Regions from separate parts of the Homo sapiens genome. Here region 1 is linked to region 2. The links are contacts of gene promoters, found by promoter capture Hi-C in human tissues and cell types (Jung and others, 2019). All regions are on one chromosome and are shown on one strand. Each heading gives the region's core, a stretch centred on a gene start or on the middle of the fragment in contact. The rest is flanking DNA. Distances are from core to core; before and after follow the strand shown. Region 1 holds the start of CATSPERG (catsper channel auxiliary subunit gamma). Region 2 overlaps SIPA1L3 (signal induced proliferation associated 1 like 3).

What was found. The method cuts DNA at HindIII sites, captures the fragments that hold promoters and counts their contacts. A contact is called where the count stands out against the background at its distance.
Region 1: a contact is called between the fragment with the promoter of CATSPERG here and a fragment that was not itself captured in region 2, in 1 of the 25 tissues and cell types used here (dorsolateral prefrontal cortex).

The regions. Positions count from the first base shown.
Region 1 is chr19:38,334,213-38,337,155 of GRCh38, forward strand. CATSPERG (catsper channel auxiliary subunit gamma) reads left to right here and starts at 1,618. Exons shown (of 29, transcript NM_021185.5): 1 at 1,618-1,663. RefSeq lists enhancers at 1,357-1,651, 1,456-1,665 and silencers at 1,786-1,865, 2,236-2,405. The HindIII fragment of the contact is 10,217 bases long and covers 1-2,943 here.
Region 2 is chr19:38,142,150-38,145,052 of GRCh38, forward strand. It overlaps SIPA1L3 (signal induced proliferation associated 1 like 3), which reads left to right. Exons shown (of 22, transcript NM_015073.3): 12 at 424-561. Among named protein-coding and RNA genes, the nearest start is that of SNORD152, 19 kb to the right of the region's middle. RefSeq lists an enhancer at 1,382-2,231. The HindIII fragment of the contact is 6,489 bases long and covers 1-2,903 here.

The DNA.
Region 1 (2,943 bases), core at 368-2,867, 190 kb after region 2:
GAAAAATTCTGGAAGTAGCCAGGTAGTTACTCAGGAGGCTGAGATGGGAGGCTCACATGAGGCCTGAAATTCAAGGCTAACCTGAGATAGGGTGTTGCTCTTTTGCCCAGGCTGAAATGCAGTGGTGTGATCACAGCTCACTGCATTTCCGTGTATTTCAGAGCTCACTGCAGCCTCAAACTCCTGGGCTCAAGTGGTCTTCCTGCCTCAACCTCCCAGGTAGCTGGGGTCACAGGGATGGACCACCACACTGGGCTAATTTAAAAAAATTGTTAGCAACAGGGTCTTACCATATTGCCCAGGCTGGCCTCAAGCGATCCTCCTACCTCAGCCTCCCAAAGTACTGGGATTACAGGTGTGCAGCACCACATCTGGCTTAATTTTTTTTTTTTTTTTTGAGACAGGGTCTCATTCTGTCGCCCAGGCTGGAGTGCAGTGGAGGGATCTCGGCTCACTGCAACCTCCGCCTCCTGGGTTCAAGCAACTCCTGCCTCAGCCTCCCGAGTAGCTGGGATTACAGGTGCCCGCCGCCATGCCCGGCTAATTGTTGTATTTTTTGGTAGAGACAAGGTTTTATCATGTTGGCCAGGCTGGTATCCAACTTCAGACCTCAAGTGATCCGCCTGCCTCAGCTTTCCAAAGTGCTGGGATTATAGGCATGAGCCACTATGCCCAGCCAGAGACTCCATCTTTAAAACAAAAACAAAAACTCAGGGTGTGGTACCCACCAACCTGGCTTACCCAGCCTTTTAGGTGAGTCTAATGCATGCTCAAATTTGAAAACCACTGGGTTAAACGTCTGGTCTGGAGTTCATCAAAAAGTCATGGCCTGAATCCTTACCTGTAAGGCATCAGAATGCAAATGAAAATTAACTTAATGAATATTTTACTTGAGCCGGGCACACTTCCCACAACAGTATAGGATGGCTGTCCTTGTCCTGTTTTGTAGAGGACGGTGCTAAGCAGCCTATTCATTCTCACAAGGTCTCCAGGAAACCACACTTTTTTAAGGAGTAGAATTTTGGGGTAGGGCCGGGCGCAGTGGCTCACGCCTGTAATCCCAGCACTTTGGGAGGCCGAGGCGGGTGGTTCGCCTGAGGTCAGGAGTCGAGACCAGCCTGGCCAACATGATGAAACCCCGTTTCTACTAAAAATACAAAAAATAAATTAGCCAGGCGTGGTGGCGGGAGCCTATAATCCCAGCTACTCGGGAGGCTGAGGCAGGAGAATCGCTTGAATCCGGGGCAGGGGCGCGGAGGTTTCAGTGAGCCGAAATCGCGCCACTTCACACTCCAGCCTGGGAGAAAGAGCGAAACTCCGTCTCAAAAAAATATATATATATATATATTTGGGTAGGAAGCACAAGTAGGGACCGTGCTTGCTGCCAGAACAACCAATAGAAACTCCTTGAAGGCCTTCCTGGCACAAACGTAGTCTCCAGCACCCTCTGCCGACCAGGCCCCGCGCCCTCAGTGCTGAGACAGCCTCCAGCCCTCGGTGCCTTAGGGGTTGCGCGTCACCTTGGAGACCGCGTGAGAGGAGGGCGTGCCTCTGCAAAGGCGGAAGTCGGCTGTGGAAGTGTGGGCGGCCATTTTGAGACCGGGCAAGAGGGGCGGGACTGGTGCGGCCGAGTGACAGTTGACCGGTTTTAACCAAGTGACTGGTACCACGGGGCCGGGGAAAAAGCTGTGCCATCCAGGGGCGGGGGGATGCCGGGGACGGGGAGGAACTAGGAAGGGGAGGGGAAGGGGAAGGCGAGAAGGGGAGAGGCAGGGGAAAGAGGGGAAGAGTCGTGGGAGCTGGGAGAGGAGGGAAAGAGGGGAAGAGTCGTGGGAGCTGGCAGAGGAGGGAAAGGGGGAGCCGAACGTGAAGGGCGAAGGGCGGGGCGGGGCAGGAGAGTCGGGGTATAGAGCAGGCAGGTGTTAATGGCATGGGAAGGAAGAGTAAGAAGTGGGGCAAGAAGGTGTCGCGGTACGAGGGGAAGGTGAGACTCAAGAAGGTGCCGGCTAAGAAGCTGGTGCCGGCGTGGAAGGAGAAGGTGTGGGGCGAGGAAACAACGAAGGGCGAGGAAAGATCCCGAGGCGAAGAGACAGTTTTCATCGAGAAGGGGCAGGGCGAGGAGGAGGGGCGTTACCAGAGGGCGGGACGGGGCGACGGGCCCGCGCGGGAAGAACCAATCGCCGAGAACCCGGGGAAGGAACGGGTCCATAAAGACCAAGTGGAGGAGTAGGGGCGCGGTCAGGAGCGGAAGCAGAGTGAGGAGCAAGCCCCGGGCGAGAAACGGGGGCCCGGCCGGGAGCAAGAGCAGGGGCGGGGCCGGGAGCAAGAGCAGGGGCGGGGCCCGGAGACGGGCGAGACCAGGTACAGTACCCAGCCCCTGGGCAGACCCCGAGCGAGGAGAAAGCGGCGATACCAAGAGAAGTGCGAGGGTGGGGCAAGAGGTTGGGGCACAGCCGGGTGGAAGTACACGGGTGCGATCGCAGGCAGAAGCAGTACGGGGGAACTTAAGAGGGGGACTGTCAAAGCGAGAAATAGAAACCAAGACCAGGTGAAGAGCAAGAGTGGAATACAGGGAGGGGGCGGAATAAGGAGCAAGGTGAGGATAAAGTTAAAGGAAGAGACGTGGAGGCGGCGGGGCGGAACGAGGCGGAGGAGCAGGGGTGTGGCCAGAAACATTAGTAGGGCTGGGGCCCGGAGCAATAGCAGAGGTGCGATACCCACGAGGGTCGGGGGCAGGGCCAGGAGCAAGAGCAGGGGCGGGACCAGGAGCAAGTGCAGAGGCGGAGCCAGGAACAAGAGCAGAGGCGGGGCTAAAAGTCCGTGCGGGGGCAGGGCCAGGAGCAAGAGCAGGGGCGGGACCAAGAGCAAGTGCAGGGGCGGGGCCAGGAGCAAGAGCCGGGGCGTGGCCAGGAGCAAGTGCTGTGAGAGGCGCAGAAGCGAGGT
Region 2 (2,903 bases), core at 266-2,765:
TGTTTTATGATGATGACAAATATAACTTAACAGATACTCTTTTGAAGATATTATATATTAAAAGATAAAAAGAAAATTTTCCAAAAAATGAAGGAATCCAACTTGCAGAGGGACATCTTGTCCCCAGGGGGCAGAGGCGAGAATGGTCTTGAGCAGCCTGCAGAAGCTGTGAGTTGCGGGCAGCCGCAGTGGATCCGGGAAGAGGGGGCCCAGGAGCATCCCAGCTTCTCTCGCCCTGTGCTCAGCATCCTCCCCTTCATCCTGAGCAGTGAATAGCAGAAGGGATGTGGCTGGGCGGGGGAAAGTTCGGTTGGTCTGTCTGTCTGTCCGTCTGTCCATCCATCTGTCTGTCCGTCCATCCTCCCAGGGCAGGGGTACCCTCCTACTCACCCTCTGCCTCCTTCCTCCCCTGTCTCCTTCTAGGCCTGTCAGCTTCCCAGAAACCCCTTACACAGTATCACCAGCAGGGGCCGACAGAGTCCCTCCCTACCGACAGCCTTCTGGGAGCTTCTCCACCCCCGGTTCGGCCACCTACGTGAGATACAAGCCATCCCCAGAAAGGTCAGCCTCCCTCAATTCTTTTCATGTTAAGGGATCTGATGAAAGCTGTGCCTCCTTCTTCCCCAGCAAATGCACACCCCCACAATTCTAGTTGCCATTTTATGGTGTTTCTGGACCCCTGAAGGTCCTCAGAGGAGCCCCATGGGGTGGTTATGTCTCAAGTTTTGGAGCAAAACTGGGCCGGGCTGGGCAGGACCCATCGTTGGCTTTCCTTGCAGCAGAATTTTGATTGCTGTTCTCTTGACACCTGTCAAGCAAGAGCATCCACTATCCAGCACGGCCATGCATCTAACTCTCTCCAGCCCTAAGCCCCTAGGACCAGGCTGCCAGCATTACCCAGTTTTCGAGATCTTTCAGGATTCAGTTCTGCCCACTTGCGTCCATCTGCAACCTGGCAGCCTGAGAGATCTCCCCAAACCCTCCATGGCTCCCCACCAGCCTGAGAGATCTCCCCAAACCCTCCATGGCTCCCCAGTGCCCTCAGGATAAACTTGGCATTCAAGGCCCTTCAGGCTCTGGCTCCGGCTGAGCTTATTCCCCAGCTGCCTTCAGCCCTCGTGCCCTCTGTTCTTCCTCTGCCCCCAGGTCCCTGTCTCAGGGGCAGCCACATCAATCCTAGTCCTTGGGCCTGAGCTGTGGCCCTCATCCTGTGAATGTCCCCTTCCTCCTCCTCCTTGCAGTGGTCCTCCTCCTGAGCATCTCTGTCACCCACCCTCTCCTCCTTTCCCTGTTCTCTTGCCCAGGCCACCACAGTGGGCTTCCAGCCTTCATCTCACCTCCCCTGGTCTACCCTCCACTCAACACTCAACAGCCAGAGGGATCTTTCTGTGTCTTTTTTTTTTTTTTTTTTTTTTGAGACCACTCTGTCGCCAGACTGGAGTGCAGTGGCGCAATCTCAGCTCACTGCAACCTCCACCTCCCGGGTTCAAGTGATTCTCCTGCCTCAGCCTCCCAAGTAGCTGGGACTACAGGCTCTCGCCACCACGCCCAGCTAATTTTTGTATTTTTAGTAGAGACGGATTTTCACCATGCTGGCCAGACTGGTCTCAAACTCCTGGCCTCAAGCGATCCGCCTGCCTCAGCTTCCCAAAGTGCTGGGATTACAAGTGTGAGCCCGTGCACCTGGCCAGATCTTTCTATACCTGAACATGCCTGTCCCCTGCTCCAAACCCTCCCACCACTCCCAGAGCCCTCAGGACACAGCTTTGGCCCCTCCCTGTGGCCACCAGGGCCCCTGCGAGTCTCGTGCAGTGCCACACTTTAGCCACACTGGCCACTCCCAGCTTCCTAGGGGGACTGTCTGTATTTCAGAGCCTTGATGGTGTTCCTTCCTTGGCCTGAATATGCTTCACACTCCTCGCCCACACTCCCCCCATCCTACCAACTCAAGCTTCTGTGCCCCTCTCCAGAACCCTTCTCTGGAGCTCCCTCTTGAGGCAAGGCACTGCCCCCCAATTCCTGTGTATTTCCTGACTGTGGCCTTGAGCACTCTTCATCCTTATTAGCCAGCTAAGAGTGTGTGTGCTTGCGCACGTGCATGTATGTGCACCTGTAAGAGAGCGAGAGAGAGACAGAGAGGGTAAGCGTGCTCTTCAAGACCTCCCATCACATAGTACACAGTCCGACACATGGCTGATCTTTGGTATATATTGGATGAAAGGATGGAGTGAGTGGGTTTGTTAAAATGAAACCACCTGCCTTAAGACCAGGGATCAGGCCACCAAACCAGTGGTTCTCAATCTTTAGCAGGCATTGGAATCACCCAGAGGAGGACTTGTTAAAATACAGATTATTGGGCCTGAGCCCCAAATTTCTGACCTGGTAGGTTCGGGGTGCTGCACCAGGGACCATTCTCTGAGAGTCACCACAGTCATCCATTGTTAGATTCTAAGCCTCTTGTTCAATTGGAGAAACACGCCCACTGTTTCTTCTTCTAGTAGCCACCATTCAGCTTTCATTCAGCAAAGGGTCTCAAGAGCTTTCTGGCGTGCCAGGAGGAGTATTTGAGATACTCAATTACGAGGGGGTTCTGTAGTCAGCCCTTGCTGACTGTGATGGAGAGGATCGTAAAAACCATGTGCACTCTGATGAGCACTCTAATAGAGGAAGAGGGAACACAGCCCAGCACTGGAGGTCTAGACTGGCTGCCTGGAGGAGGTGACATCTGAACAGAAGTTTGAGGGACTAATAGGAGTCTGCGACAGAGAGGAGAGAAAAAGTCATTCCAAACAGAGTAAAGGCCACAGATATGAACAAGCAGGATGCTGTGAAACACAGGAGAATCAGAGAGGAATCGGGTGTGTGCGGGACATGGGGTGTGGGGGCACCCAGGTGACAGCAGG